Linked DNA regions of Homo sapiens: all the other regions are linked to region 5. The links are contacts of gene promoters, found by promoter capture Hi-C in blood cells and fetal thymus (Javierre and others, 2016). All regions are on one chromosome and are shown on one strand. Each heading gives the region's core, a stretch centred on a gene start or on the middle of the fragment in contact. The rest is flanking DNA. Distances are from core to core; before and after follow the strand shown. Region 1 holds the start of ARPC5 (actin related protein 2/3 complex subunit 5). Region 2 has its middle 6.4 kb from the start of NCF2. Region 3 overlaps RGL1 (ral guanine nucleotide dissociation stimulator like 1). Region 4 overlaps SMG7 (SMG7 nonsense mediated mRNA decay factor). Region 5 holds the start of LAMC1 (laminin subunit gamma 1).

The links. The method cuts DNA at HindIII sites, captures the fragments that hold promoters and counts their contacts. A CHiCAGO score of 5 or more calls a contact.
Region 1: the fragment with the promoter of ARPC5 here is called in contact with the fragment with the promoter of LAMC1 in region 5 in 5 of 17 cell types (total B cells, naive B cells, fetal thymus and 2 more); the score reaches 12.3 in total B cells.
Region 2: a fragment that was not itself captured here is called in contact with the fragment with the promoter of LAMC1 in region 5 in 1 of 17 cell types (naive B cells); the score reaches 5.9 in naive B cells.
Region 3: a fragment that was not itself captured here is called in contact with the fragment with the promoter of LAMC1 in region 5 in 1 of 17 cell types (total B cells); the score reaches 5.3 in total B cells.
Region 4: a contact is called between a fragment that was not itself captured here and the fragment with the promoter of LAMC1 in region 5, in 2 of 17 cell types (endothelial precursors and total B cells). The highest score is 7.1, in endothelial precursors.

Annotation. Positions count from the first base shown.
Region 1 is chr1:183,634,421-183,637,120 of GRCh38, forward strand. It overlaps ARPC5 (actin related protein 2/3 complex subunit 5), which reads right to left and starts at 1,363. Exons shown (of 4, transcript NM_005717.4): 1 at 1,097-1,363. The coding sequence starts at 1,239. It also overlaps a transcript of RGL1 not described here. RefSeq lists enhancers at 559-1,059, 1,057-1,336 and silencers at 647-865, 817-876, 957-1,006, 1,487-1,646. The HindIII fragment of the contact is 3,712 bases long and covers 394-2,700 here.
Region 2 is chr1:183,595,492-183,598,191 of GRCh38, forward strand. It overlaps a transcript of NCF2 not described here. Among named protein-coding and RNA genes, the nearest start is that of NCF2, 6.4 kb to the left of the region's middle. The HindIII fragment of the contact is 2,564 bases long and covers 154-2,700 here.
Region 3 is chr1:183,913,499-183,916,406 of GRCh38, forward strand. The region is part of intron 15 of RGL1 (ral guanine nucleotide dissociation stimulator like 1); the gene reads left to right. Among named protein-coding and RNA genes, the nearest start is that of RGL1, 110 kb to the left of the region's middle. RefSeq lists an enhancer at 2,547-2,736. The HindIII fragment of the contact is 2,496 bases long and covers 111-2,606 here.
Region 4 is chr1:183,547,628-183,550,434 of GRCh38, forward strand. It overlaps SMG7 (SMG7 nonsense mediated mRNA decay factor), which reads left to right. Exons shown (of 23, transcript NM_001375584.1): 19 at 1,581-1,661; 20 at 2,137-2,296. Among named protein-coding and RNA genes, the nearest start is that of NCF2, 41 kb to the right of the region's middle. The HindIII fragment of the contact is 963 bases long and covers 1,077-2,039 here.
Region 5 is chr1:183,022,169-183,024,868 of GRCh38, forward strand. LAMC1 (laminin subunit gamma 1) reads left to right here and starts at 1,252. Exons shown (of 28, transcript NM_002293.4): 1 at 1,252-1,966. The coding sequence starts at 1,549. RefSeq lists enhancers at 1-504, 505-1,059, 1,615-2,168 and silencers at 571-960, 991-1,380, 1,431-1,500, 1,521-1,660. The HindIII fragment of the contact is 7,676 bases long and covers 1-2,700 here.

The DNA of each region.
Region 1 (2,700 bases), core at 113-2,612, 610 kb after region 5:
CATATTTCCCCACTATAACAGGACATTGTTGAGAGTCTTCCTTATGAATACACCCAAGAATTAGAAATGCATACAAATTCAGTGTCTGAGATTTTCTAAAACTACAGCTTCGGTTTTTTTGCAACATTTACATTTTTCTAAAAAAGATGTAATGCAAATGCGAAGCCAAAGTTATGAATATTCAAATATGCAAAAACAGAAACCGGGAACTGACTGCCATATTTTAACTAAAATGGAAACAATTTTAGGATTACAAAAATGATTCTGCTTTATACGAATGACTCATCTTCTATCTTATTCATTGGGGTTTATTTTAAATATTTCCAAGGATTCTCCACACGCATTCCCCGTTGTTTTTTCTATTGTCCTTTTCTTAGCAGGTAAAAGGCTCCAAGCTTCCTTCTAGGAGTTTTGTATTTTTTGTATTCATTCCCCTCCCCCAGTTAACAAATTCTGTACAATGTATATTTTGCCAAATCCCCTTCTTCTTCTTCTTTTTTTTTTTTTTTTAAAAAGGCCAATGGGCTGAAAGCACAGGGACCCTCAATTTTCGAACAGTCCCATCTCCCCCCGCCCCCCGGTAAGGAATAAACTACCTTAACGCTACCAATAACAAAAACACAACAAAAAACAAAACCACTAAGGAAAGATGCAGGTTCCCCACAATCAGAAATTTCTGGAGCTAATGTGACCCCAGGAAATCAGAGTTCTAGGAAGAAAAACTAAGGCGCTCGGCACCAGCCTTCCCCACCAGCCGGGGCCGCCTTCCCCAGCGCCGCGAGGGCGCGGCCGGCGGGACCAGTTCCCGAGGCAGGCAGGCACTCGGGTGCAACCTGAGGAATCTGGGGGCGTGGAAGGCGCGCGGGGGAGGGCAGGCTTCCAAGAGTGGGACCCTCGCGTCTCCTGCCGACTGGGTAGGAAACGGGGGCTTCCCCCTTGCCCTCTCAGAGCGGGCGATCCCAAAGAGACAGGTTAAGCCGCAGGTTGAGAGGGCAGCTCCGCGCCGGTGCCCCGCGGATCCTGCAGGCTCCCGGGTCCCAGGAGAAGGGCGGGCTGGGCTGGGCTGGGGTGGGGAGGGCGGTGAATGCAAGGATATTGCCGCAGGCAGGAGTCCACCTCGCCCTCGTCGGGCCCGGCCTGGCCGTCGCCCCCATCTTCTTCGTCCACGAACTTGTTCTCGTCATATTCATCCACGTCCACCTTCCGGAAGCGGGCCGACGACACTGTGTTCTTCGACATCCCAATCCCGACCAGCGGCAAAGGCCTCTTCTTGGCGCTGCCTCTACCTCAGCAAGCCCAGCCCAGCAACCCACTACCCGGCGCCTGATTCACTTCCCTCTTCCGCTCTGAGGCGTCGCCGACTGCCGCGGCTCGGACCGTTCTGGGCCTGCGCGCTAGCCCCGTTTCTTCCTCCTCAGGTTCGCGCTCCCTTGGCGCCTCCCACGCTGCCCCTGCTCTTCCACGGAGAGCGCGCGCGAGGGAAGGAGCGCGCAGGACACAGCGCGCAGGCGCGGGCTCTCCGCAGGCAAGGGGCGGGGCTGGGCGAAGGAGGCGGGGGCGAGAGGGAGGGCCAAAAGCTGGACCGCGGGCAGAGGTAAGAAGCGATTGGTCGTCCGATTGCGTCACGTGATTCTCGGTGGGGGGGTTCCCATAGAAACGCTTTTCTGCGGTCCAGTCTAGGGGGTCTCAGATTGGCGGGGATGGGCAGCAGCGGCAGGTGGCCTTGGCTTTTGCTGCAGCCGTCAACGACCTATCATCGGGGTCCTGCGTAAGGTCCGGCTGGCTGGGACTTGGCTGTGGGTGGGATGGACTGGCTGCCGGACCGAGTGCCCTGCAGTTGGTAGGAGTATGAGGCAGAGTGATGCACACCCGGGCGCCCAGCATCGTTCTAATTGCCGGAGACATTGCCTCAGACTGTGCGCTGCTAGAGGCTGCGTTCCTGAGCAGGAAGCCCGTTTCCTGGGATTGGAACTACCCTTCTTGGCCAGCGGGAAGTCCCCAAGGACGGAGTCGAAAGGTCAAATCTTATCTGTCAGTGCTGTGTGACAGCATCGCAACGGGATCTGCAGAACCTGAACTCGGTATCAAATCTATTGGGAGGGAGGGGAACGTGTCCGGGCAGGCGCTGGGGTCGGGTGGCAAAACTGGGGTGAATTTGTAGAATTTGGGAAAGGGTCATTGACATCTTAAAATAGGTGGTCGTTTGGAGCAAGAATGCTCGAAAGGGGTGAGGGTAGGTTAGGCTCTCTAGTGCTGGGGGAAAACAAAATGTGGAAGGATTGGTGGAAACCAGACCTTTAAGATTTATATTATGATTTGAGATTTATATGATTCCATCTAGGCCAGATTTAAAAAAATATTTGACATCCCCATTTCTGGAATGTAGGAGATAAAGGCACTAAGACGAAGGAAATGGTAGTTGTGCTGTGTGTATTACACTGAAGAACAAATATTTGCAGGATAAAATTAATTTGGACATTTGGCTGGACACTGCTCGGTATGGGTCCAGTTTAGTTGGACCTCGAGCAGAAGACTGGCTGTTGCCCTGTTGTGTACCACAATCTTTGGTTTCCAGTGCTGTGTTGAAAAGAGCACTAGGCTTAGAATCAGAAAACTCAGGCTTAAGTGTTGACTCTTCCACTCATAATGTTTGAACGAGACATGTCACTTAAAATTCTGTCTCAGATTCCTCATCACTGA
Region 2 (2,700 bases), core at 186-2,685, 570 kb after region 5:
GCACGGCTTAGTTGGGCCCTGTGCTCAGGGTCTCACAAGGCTGAGATCGAGGTGTTATCTAGGCTGCTTTCTCATCTGGAGACTTGACGGCATCTGCTGCCAAGCTCCCTTGGTTTGTTGGTGGAATTCATCTGTAGCTATAGAATTCATGAAAGCTTCCTTCTTCAAGGCCAGCAATGGAGGCAGAGAGAATCTCTGCTTCATTAAGTCTCTTACCTCTAGACCTTCTCTTAAAGGAGTCACCTGATTAGGCCAGGCCCACCCAGAATATTCTCCCTTTTGATTAATTTAAAGCCAACTGCTTAGGGATGTTAATCATCTCTGCAAAAATCCCTTCACCTTTGCCATGTTCTATTGATTAAAAGCAAGTTACAGGTCTCTCCCACTCAAGGGGAGGGGATTACACAAAGGCAAGGATCATCAGGGATCATCTTAGAATTCCACCTGCCACACCTCAGCAGCTCCAGTCTTCTTCCCTGACTTACCAGTGAGATTAATTATTCCTGCCATGTGCACTCAAGGAGGTTTCTCTCTACCTCTCCTAATGTGTGTTCAAGCACATGTGATTGTAATTACTTGTTTAAACGACTGTCTCTCAACTAGACTGTAAGCCCCGAAAATACAAGATCTGTGTCTGATTTTTCCACTGTATCTTTTGTGCCCATGATATGGTGGATTTTTAACATATCTGTTAAATAGCGATGCCATGGAAGGTGCTTTTAAAGTCAGTGTGATTACTTAATTTGCTTGGCTAAATATATGTGTCCTAGCATCCTAGATGAAAATGAGGGAATGTATAATGCCTATTCATTTAAAGACACCTCATATTAAGCACTCTTTTTCATATTTGTACCCTTTACACACACAATGTCTAGTACCTGCATAGGTGGTCACTCAGTAAAAGTTTGATGAATAAATGAATGAATGCATAGAGATTAAAGATCTGAATCCTGAATGAAGCAAGTAAATACACTGGATCCTCACTATAAATTGTCCTTTGGGCCAGGCACAGTGGCTCACACCTATAATCCCAGCACTTTGAGAGGCCAAGGTGGGCGGATCACGAGGTGAGGAGTTGGAGACCAGCCTGACCAACATGGTGAAACCCTGTCTCTACTAAAAATAGTACTAAAAATAGTACTCAGGAGGCTGAGGTAGGAGACTCTCTTGGACCTGGCAGGCAGAAGTTGCAGTGAGCCGACATTGCATCACTGCACTCCAGCCTGGGCTACAGAGCGAGACTCCATCTTAAAAAAAAAAAAAAATTGCCCTTTGACATTTCTCTGCAGATCCAAATCCTGTCCATCTGTCCATCTGTAAAAGCTCAGCTTAGACTCACATCCTACGTAAAGTCTTCCCTGATGTAAGTTAGTCTCAGTAATTTTTTTCTCTGAATTCCTATAGCATTTTATGATCAAACCCCAAAACACAAGCACTCTATCACATTATCTGTTTTCTACCTTATCTATCCAGCTAGCTATAAATAGGTTCTTTGAGGGCAGGGAACAGGCTTTCTATTTCTTTACATTTTCCACAGAACTGGCACCTAACATCTTATATCAAAGTCTTAATAAATATGTGCTGATCTGAAAAGTAAAAAAGAAATATGGTTGATGTGGCATGATTCTAGTCCTGCATATCTTAGGAACTTTCCCTTTTTGGATGCAGTTGGCCTTTTCAGTCCTGCATTTTTCGTCTAGAGTACCCATTCACTAAATGCAATCTAGTCATAGAGCCAGGGATCTCTTTTACATGTGTTCAAAACTCCGTGGGTCTTTTTCTTTAGGAAGATTCCTGTCTCAGGATAGTTTTTGTGTGTGTTTCCCAAGCCAGTGAGTATCTAAGGGGAAATGATGCTCTAACAAGACAGTTACTGATGTTGAAGGAGTAGAAACTGATCACGTCATTGTACAAAAAAGCGGAGGGGGCACAGAAGAGTTAGAAATCTACCCCCTATTTAGCAGAACAGAATTTTTTAAAAAAATTTAGATTCAGGAGGTACATGTGTAGGTTTGTCACGTGGTATATTGCAGGATGCTGAGGTCTGGACTTCTATTGATCCTGTCACCCAAATAGTGAACATAGTACCCGATAGGTGGTTTTTCAACTCTTGCCCACCCGTCTCCTTTCCCACTTTTGGAGTCCCCAGTGTCTATTGTTCCCATCTTTGTGTTCATGTATACTCAATGTTTAGCTACCACTTATAAGTGAGAACATGCAAGATTAGATTTTCTGCAAAACAAAATTTTTAAAGATTCCCTTTTGCTTTCCCTGTAGTGTCCCTAACGACCGTGTCTGGACATACAATAACTATTTGCTGAATCACTGAATGAATGAACAAGTGAAGAGTGGACATCTGTTAGGGTATATGCCTGTCTCTTCTCTGGGACCTGCCTGTGTAATCCATAGAAGGATGGTAGGCCCTGTGGCCACATTTGTACTGCCTGAGTCCTGGCTGGTTGGACCCTGGTGGGCATCTGACAAGCTGGCCTCATTAGGTTATGTCTCCTGTGATTCAGGATTTAGGACTGAGAGGTGTATAAACCTAGGAGCTGCAGTTCTATCATGCTGTGCCCTGAGGCCCCGGAAAGCAGAGGAAGCCAGACTACTCAGAGAGAATGGAACAGATGCCCAGCGAGGAGCAGAGACAAGAGACACAGAAACTTTTCAGTCTCCGGTTCCAGCCTTTCCTGAGCCCCA
Region 3 (2,908 bases), core at 109-2,608, 890 kb after region 5:
AATCTTCTGTACACATCTGCTTCAATCTGTTGGTTGAAGGGTTTGGATCAGAAAGTCAACTATGACATAACTAGAATTTGCACCATTTGGGGAAGGTTTCTGGCTAACCAAGCTTACTCAATAGTGACTTCTGGCTCCTTAGCTTATGGTTAGGTCAGTAAGGTAGAATGTTGGCAATGGTTTCATCCCTTGGTTTATATCTGCTGCTCTTCAAGGGGACATGTGTGTTGCTTCACATGGTGTTAAAACAACAGTGGTAATCCTGGAACCCTCAAGTGACTTTGTCATAATGTAGCCAATCCAGGAAAAGCATCATATTCAGGATTCATCAAACTGAGATGACTAATTTGCTGCTCTAGTTGGATTTCTTAGCTTTCTGCTTTGAAATCCAGGGGATACAATCATTCATGCTCTAAATATTGAAAGAAAGCCTTCGTGGACACCTACGGACTGGCCATGCTCTCAAAAGGCATTTTTCCTCAACCCGGGATGTAGTCATTCTTCGTGACTTGACATACAAATTAGCTTTGTCAAAATCTGGAATGCAGTCTCATCATTCACTTTTTCACAGCCTCTGAGGTTTTATAGGCTCCATTTCTGATGGTAGACATTGTAGGAAAGTAATAACTGAGGTATTGCCCACATTATTGTGGGATTTCTCCCTGTCTCTCCAGGAAGGAGATGGAATCACAGTCACACCTTGTGGCATAGTGGAAATGTACATTGGTCCAAATGGTACCTTTTAAAACTATGCAGAAGCCCAGTGTGCTTTCTCCTGCACATCCCTTGCTTCATCTTTTTTGTCTCATCCCTCATCAGACTGGCTTTTTAAATTCTTGCAGAAGTCATGGCTCTTTATTCTTTGGATGAACCTTTCTCAGAGTCATACATTTCTTAAACATCAGTGATTCACTTGGATGCAAGTAGCTCCTGGACTGCACAATCCCTGCATATTAGCTAGAAAGGCTCGTGATTCTCCTGCTTGGCACATAGCTGGACTGAGCTGACCTCCACACTTCCTTCCTGACCTGAGAGCCTGTGACAGCCGCCTTCTCCAAAAGTCCTCCAGACTGTCATTCTTCCTTTTCCACAGGCTGCACTGTGAGGTTGCTCTTAAGGGTGAAGTGTAATTTATTTGCATTCCTTTCTTCATTCCCCGATCATGATTTCTAAATATTGATTTTTGCACTTGCTCCTCACTTCTTAAATTCTCAATAGGAATTTGGGGGCTCATCAGGCAGTCTGTTTAGAGCTGCTATAACCCAGGCATATTCTAGGCTTTATCTTAACTATAAATGTCACTAGAATCATAGAAAAATCTAACAAAGGAAATAGAGTTTGGATAGAGGAACATGAAGGCGAAAAAATTGAATGAATAATTGGAAAATGCACCCCCTTAACTAATATATCTGCAAAGAAACTTATGCTATTAACTTATCTATCATCAGTTAGTCCTCAAATTGAGCCACTAAGTTGATTCATTTGGGAACATAAGGAAGAAAAAAACCCAAAAACCAAAACAAAAACTAAACCATATTATGATAGAGCCACAATCAGACCCCTACCCATGAGAATTGTCACATCAGCTGGCTGGCTGTAAACTAACTGTGCAATAGAACTGAATGTATAATTATGCCACAGGAGGAAATCTACAGGAAATAAGATAATAGACTCCATTTTAATCAGAAGCCTGATAACCAGAAAGCTCAACTTCTATACTGTTTCCATGGAAAGGCAGATAAATATGAAAGAAATGTTATTTATTTTATAAATGACTTCCAGAATATTTTATAGGATTAACATGGTATAATTTAGCTTAAGTCATTCCGGGAAATTCTTTATAATTTTCTACAATAATAATGGGTATTTTAAATGGTTCAATTTAATGATTTTTAAAAGTACCTCTTCCAATAACTTCTTTCTTTGGTTATTGGTATTGCATGGATGAGAAATGTGTAGTTAATCAGAAAAGCATATTAACTGTAGTACTCCATTTCTTAATTGTCCTTGATACACATCATGAAAATGTATACAGTTGGCTCTACTAGCAAATGTGGAAAGTGGTGAAGCTGCTTAAAGGCTGTATTTCCCTTGAGCAAGTCACTTTTATATTCTGAATCTTATTCTCCTCGTCTTTATAATGCTCTGCATTTTGTTCACAAGACAGTTGTGGAATTAAAATGGGATAAGATAATATGAAAGTTCATGATAAGCCTCACAGTACTAAACATACCGAGGTAGCAGCATACTATGTTGATTCATCTTATTGTCATCAGCCACAGGCTGAGCCTTGGCCATGTGCTTGCTCTGGGAACTCGACAGTGGGAATCAGGGAGCTTGGGTTCCTGTTCTAGGGGTGCTGTCAACTAGCTGTGTGGACCTGGAGCCCCAGTTTTCTCCCTGGGTCTCAGGTTCCTCAGCAGAACAGGTATGGGACTAGTTGATGTCCAAGGCCTTTCTAGCACTAATATTCAATGCAGAGCCGTATAATCTGGGGTACTTCTCTTAGAAACTTCTAAAAATACAGAACTTTCTCTCTCACTACGAAATCTGACTGCAGTAGGACTGAATCAACTGCGTTGGCAAGGCTTTCCTCCAGCCCCGTAAGCTTCTGACTTCTTTGGGAACCCATATTGCCTCCAGTTTCTGGTGTCTGCTGCCACCTGCTGGTTAACTTCTATAAGAACAGCTAAAACCTAGGGAAATAGAACTGCTTTGCCTCACGTGCTTATAGAGTGATTAGGTCACACTGAGTCACCGATAGGCATCTACCACTGATGGGGACTCAGAGTACTTACACCAGGGATGAGACACATGTGTGCTGTGGGCTGTTGTGGAGGAAATAACTGCAGTCTATCAGTCTTGATATCTACCTCTGCTTTGAAAATTGCAAAGCTGTTGGCCAGCG
Region 4 (2,807 bases), core at 308-2,807, 530 kb after region 5:
ATATGTAGCCAAAATATGAAAGGAAATATGTTCTTGATTTTTTTTTTGACTGACATTACTGAACAGTATATGGCTCTTTTTTGTTTGGTTAACTAAATGCAGAAAGAGCCCTGATCTAAATTCAAAGTTGGATTCATAAACAGAATGAGTAAAAATGAAGAGGATTCTATTTATAAACATTGTCAGAGTGTCATAAATGAGTAAATATGAAAATAACTAGAATCACATAAAATAAAATCTGAGAACTCAGCCTGCATTTCAAAGAACATCATTCTATATGCTTGTCAGTGTTCATATTATATTTTACTGTGGGTGGGGAGTATAAAAGATGGAAAGAAAGATGTATGCTATGAGGCTTTTTCCCCTCTCTTTATTACACCTTAATAAAACATAAAAAGATAGTAAATTTTACTTTCTTGCTGTTTCTTTCTCATAAACACAGGGCAAGAACACATTCGTAAAATTAAAGTACATTAATTTTAGTGTCAAGAGAAATAAAACCTTAACAGCTTTCATGACATTGCTGCCATCCCTGGCACTTGAAGTTCCCTTAAGAATTTGCCTGGGTAGTAGCAGTAGGGGCCCCATACCAAGTTATTAAATAATAGCAATAAAAGATCCCCCTGGAGACTTAAATGGTAGCAGTGCCATGGCTGAGCGCACAGGGATTGTGGAAGCTCAGCTGCTATACTGTTGCCTCTCTATGTTTGCCTTTCTTGTGGCTTTTATGCTAGAGTGGCTTTAAGGACTGAGGGTAGTGCTTCTCTGTCCACTTGTTTCCTAATCCCTTAGTTCCTGTTCCTGTTCCCTTAGTGTCCCTTTCATTGGAAATGGAGCTGATGGTAGAACAAGTGGGAGTATTTTCAGGGTTTTTTTTTCATGTTTAAAAGACAACAATGAATAAAAAAAACTTCGACTATAACCCTTCCAATATTTAACATTAATGATACAACGTATGTCAAAGTGCTTCTCTTGTCGTAGGTATTTAGTAATGTTTTATTAGCCAGCTATTCAGTGACAGCATTAGAGATTCAGCTTTGTTTCTCCTAATAACTTTGCTAGGGCCAATAAATGTAAGCTTGACTTTTAGCAACTGTTTTACTATATACTGCAAATAGAGCTGCTTAAAAAGCATATTAACAAAGCCATTTGTCAAATGGATTTGAAAGGCTTTTTAAAAGTCACCAATGTTAATGTTTTAAAAATTGTGGGGTGGAGAGAAACAGTGTTGGAACAGTTCAGCATTTTGTTTTGAGATTAAGTGCAACTATTGACAAGGGGATTCCTGAGGTCCATGCCTCATAAACACTCAGAGTGCTGTTTACCAGGGTCTCTGGTCCCTGCCAGAATATAATCTCTGACTAGGTTTGATCTAAAAGGAGGATTCTATGCACCTGTGGCAACTGGCACTTAGGCGGTGTCTTGGTGTTAACAGATTTGAATTCACATCTTCTGAGCCTCAAATTGTACTCAGTGGGCGAATACAGGCATGCTTTTGCTTTGGTTCCATAGTATGGTAAGATTAATATTAAGAAAATAGAAGGTATAACTTAATTACCTTTTTTTCTGGGACTGTGAAGAAATCCTTATTGGAGAAGCCCTCAGAGCTCATGTCACATTCATCCTCTTTCCTGTCCCTCACCGGATTCTCTCTCAATCAGGTAGGTGAACAATGAAGAATCCTGCTGTGTGCTTTTAGTGTAGACTGATCATTGTCTTTCTCATACTGTTTCAGTATGTCTGTTTTTTCTTTATTTTCCATGTATTAGTGTATTCCAGATATTTGATTTTATCCCCCTTGTCTCTGATTGGGGCATACTAGTGACTTGTACATCATGAATTAAAACCCTTTAACTTCTCATTAATATTGAAACCCTTAGGGCTCTCTTTTTGAGCCAAATAAATTATTCACATTTTCAACCTGGATAGTTTACACAGAGCAAATTTAAGGGTGAGAGAAAGCAAAGAGGAAAATTAATTTGACTGGAAAATTGAAACAAAAAGAAATAAAAGCCTTCAAAATTTCTCTTCCTAAGAAAAGCTTAAGGTGTACCAAGCATCCATGAACAAGACATTGGATTTTCTCAAATCTCTTTCCTTGGGGTGAGTTTATAACTTCACTGTCATGTCTTTCAGGAAAGATACCCAAATAATAGTATGTTCAATGAGGTATATGGGAAAAACCTGACATCCAGCTCCAAAGCAGAACTCAGTCCCTCAATGGCCCCCCAGGAAACATCTCTGTATTCCCTTTTTGAAGGGACTCCGTGGTCTCCATCACTTCCTGCCAGTTCAGGTATTAACTACTCTTTAAATTATAGACCTTACATTTCCTGTACACTCAGATTGATTAAGGGATAGTGAGATTCTGTAATTACAAATATATCATTTGTTGGGTTATTTTTATTTTTTGTTTGTTTGTTTTTGTAACTTCTGAAAGGAAATAGAAAAAAAAAAAGAAGAAGCCGGTTTATGTAATAAATGCTACTGACAAAACTTTTTACATCCTCAGTAGCCAGCAGAGATGTAAGGGAGAAAATAGAGGTTCTATCTTATGGTTCTCAGCTGCTTTTTAGTTTTATTTGTAGGTGTTCATTCTTTGCAGAAAAATTGCACTTTTTTTTTTGAGACAGTGTCTTGTGGTGTTGCCCACTCTAGACTCAAACTCCTGGGCTCAAGCAGTCCTTCCATCTCAGCCTCCCAAGTAGCTGGGACTACAGGTGCACACCACTGTGCCCAGCTCTGCACTTTTTAAAATTGAGATTTTTAACTTAGAGTCTGACTTAATAGTAATTCTTAAGGTTAGC
Region 5 (2,700 bases), core at 2-2,501:
TTGTTTCAGATTCCCATTACGCCTATCTTAATGGGACAACTGGGTCCGAAATTATGCATGTGTTTTTTTGTTTTGTTTTTGCGGTGTACTTATTATCCGCACTTTATCATTAAATTCCTGAAAAGCTAGAACAAAACAAATCCGTGTCATTCACTATGTGCATCCTCTCTGCTTGGGGACGCCAAGGGTTTCAAGCTGCTGCCTCCCTGCCCTGGTCTCTGCTTGCCGTATCCAGCACTGGGTAAGCGCCCAGGTTCTGCTCCGGGACTAAAACTCATGATCTTCTGGCTCAGGTTCTGTGAACTGAGTCATTCTGGCACTGAGAATATTCCGTGACTCAGCAGGCCCGAAAAGGAGGATGTCAGAATCCACATAATTTCGAGTCTTTTAAAGGCAAGCCGAGGAACACAAACAACACAGTGGAAGAATTTCGCAGTGGGTCGTGCGTACCCAAGGGAAAAATTCATTCCATTCCCAGCCTTTTCACTTCCTTCCTTGCCCCGGTAAAACGACTGGTTACACTTTAAATCAGCGGCAGGAAATCGCTTCACGAAACTCATCTGGCTGCTGCGACCAGGCCCTTCTGATTCTCCAGGGACCGTGTCGGCCCCATGAACGCCCCGGGACCTCTGTTCGGGAGGGGCTGGAGCGGGGCCCCGGGCAGCAGCGGGCGCTCCCGGTTCGGACCCACACCTGGCCGGGCGGGGACCCTCTTGCCGCAGCCCAAATTGGCGCGAGGCCCCAGGGACGACCCCGAGCGACCTCCTGACCCGGCATCGCCCCTCTAAGGCGCCCTCCCCCGACTCCTCCCGCAATCCGGAGTCTCCCAGGCCGCGGAGCCCAAGGACCCCAGCGACTCCCGCGCGGGGAGCGGGTCTGCGAGGCCGCCCTTCCCTCCCGGCATGCACCACCCAGCCGCCCTCCCCTCCCCTCCTCTCCTCTCCCCTCCCCTCCTCTCCCCTCCTCTCCCCTCCCCTCCCCCAACCCCCTCCCCCGGCTCCCCGCCCACCTCGCGCGCCCCTCCCCCCGGGTCGCGCGCCGCGGGCCCGAGCGCGAGACGCCGCTGCTCCCGCCCCCGCCGCCTCCTGGAGTCGCCGGGGCGGACGCGCAGTCCATGGGGCGCGGTGGGCCGGGGAGTTGCCCCAGGGGCCGCGGGAGTTGCTGAGAGGAGACAGGGTTGGGCTTTCTCCTCGCCCAGACCCCACCCCACCCTGCCGACCCCACCCCCTGCTCCTTCCTCCCCGGGGGCGCGCACTCGGGCACGCGCTCGGAAGTCGGGGGTCGGCGCGGAGTGCAGGCTGCTCCCGGGGTAGGTGAGGGAAGCGCGGAGGCGGCGCGCGGGGGCAGTGGTCGGCGAGCAGCGCGGTCCTCGCTAGGGGCGCCCACCCGTCAGTCTCTCCGGCGCGAGCCGCCGCCACCGCCCGCGCCGGAGTCAGGCCCCTGGGCCCCCAGGCTCAAGCAGCGAAGCGGCCTCCGGGGGACGCCGCTAGGCGAGAGGAACGCGCCGGTGCCCTTGCCTTCGCCGTGACCCAGCGTGCGGGCGGCGGGATGAGAGGGAGCCATCGGGCCGCGCCGGCCCTGCGGCCCCGGGGGCGGCTCTGGCCCGTGCTGGCCGTGCTGGCGGCGGCCGCCGCGGCGGGCTGTGCCCAGGCAGCCATGGACGAGTGCACGGACGAGGGCGGGCGGCCGCAGCGCTGCATGCCCGAGTTCGTCAACGCCGCCTTCAACGTGACTGTGGTGGCCACCAACACGTGTGGGACTCCGCCCGAGGAATACTGTGTGCAGACCGGGGTGACCGGGGTCACCAAGTCCTGTCACCTGTGCGACGCCGGGCAGCCCCACCTGCAGCACGGGGCAGCCTTCCTGACCGACTACAACAACCAGGCCGACACCACCTGGTGGCAAAGCCAGACCATGCTGGCCGGGGTGCAGTACCCCAGCTCCATCAACCTCACGCTGCACCTGGGTAAGCGGTGACAGCCCCGTCCCCTGCTACTGCTCGCCAGCAGCCCAGCTCCCGGACCGGCTCCGTCCCAGTGGCCGGCCTCACGGGCGCAGACGGCCGCGTGTTTGCTCTCTGTTCCCCGGCATGGGCCACACAGAAACTCCTTTCTCCAACTTCTTAAATAGATACTGCTTTTAACATCCCGTGAGGGCCAGGATGTTCCGCACGAGTCTCTCTGCTTTCCTGTTCTTTCTGACTTAACGGGATTCTGGCTCTCTGATTATTCTGCATTTCGGCTGTTAGGATTGTGATTTCCCCCTTTTTTTTCTGAAGCGTTAATCAGAAACTCCCATCCCCACTTTTCTCTTTGCTAGCAAGGTCATCACAGCGCATTCTTGGATCGGAAACAAGAAGGTCCGCCTTAAACACTTTCGCCTTTAAAATGTTTAGATGTCCTTCCAGGGCTGAGGGTGATTGCTCTGTTGAGTTAAGGGGGAATTTGAGGGGAGCAAATGCCTTCGCTGCCTATATTGCCTATGTGTAATTAAAACATAAATTCACTTTTGAAGTTATTGTTCTTTATAGCTGCTCAGCCTTAATTAAGAACCACAAAGCGATTTGACTGCTAATCCTGGTGCAGAATGAACAAAAGGAAGTGCACTCACTGTAATTGCTGGGCATAGCCTTGTCCCTGGGTAAAAAGGCTCTCCTTTACTGTCTTCCCTTTTGCTTTCATTCAAAGCAACTGTAGAAAC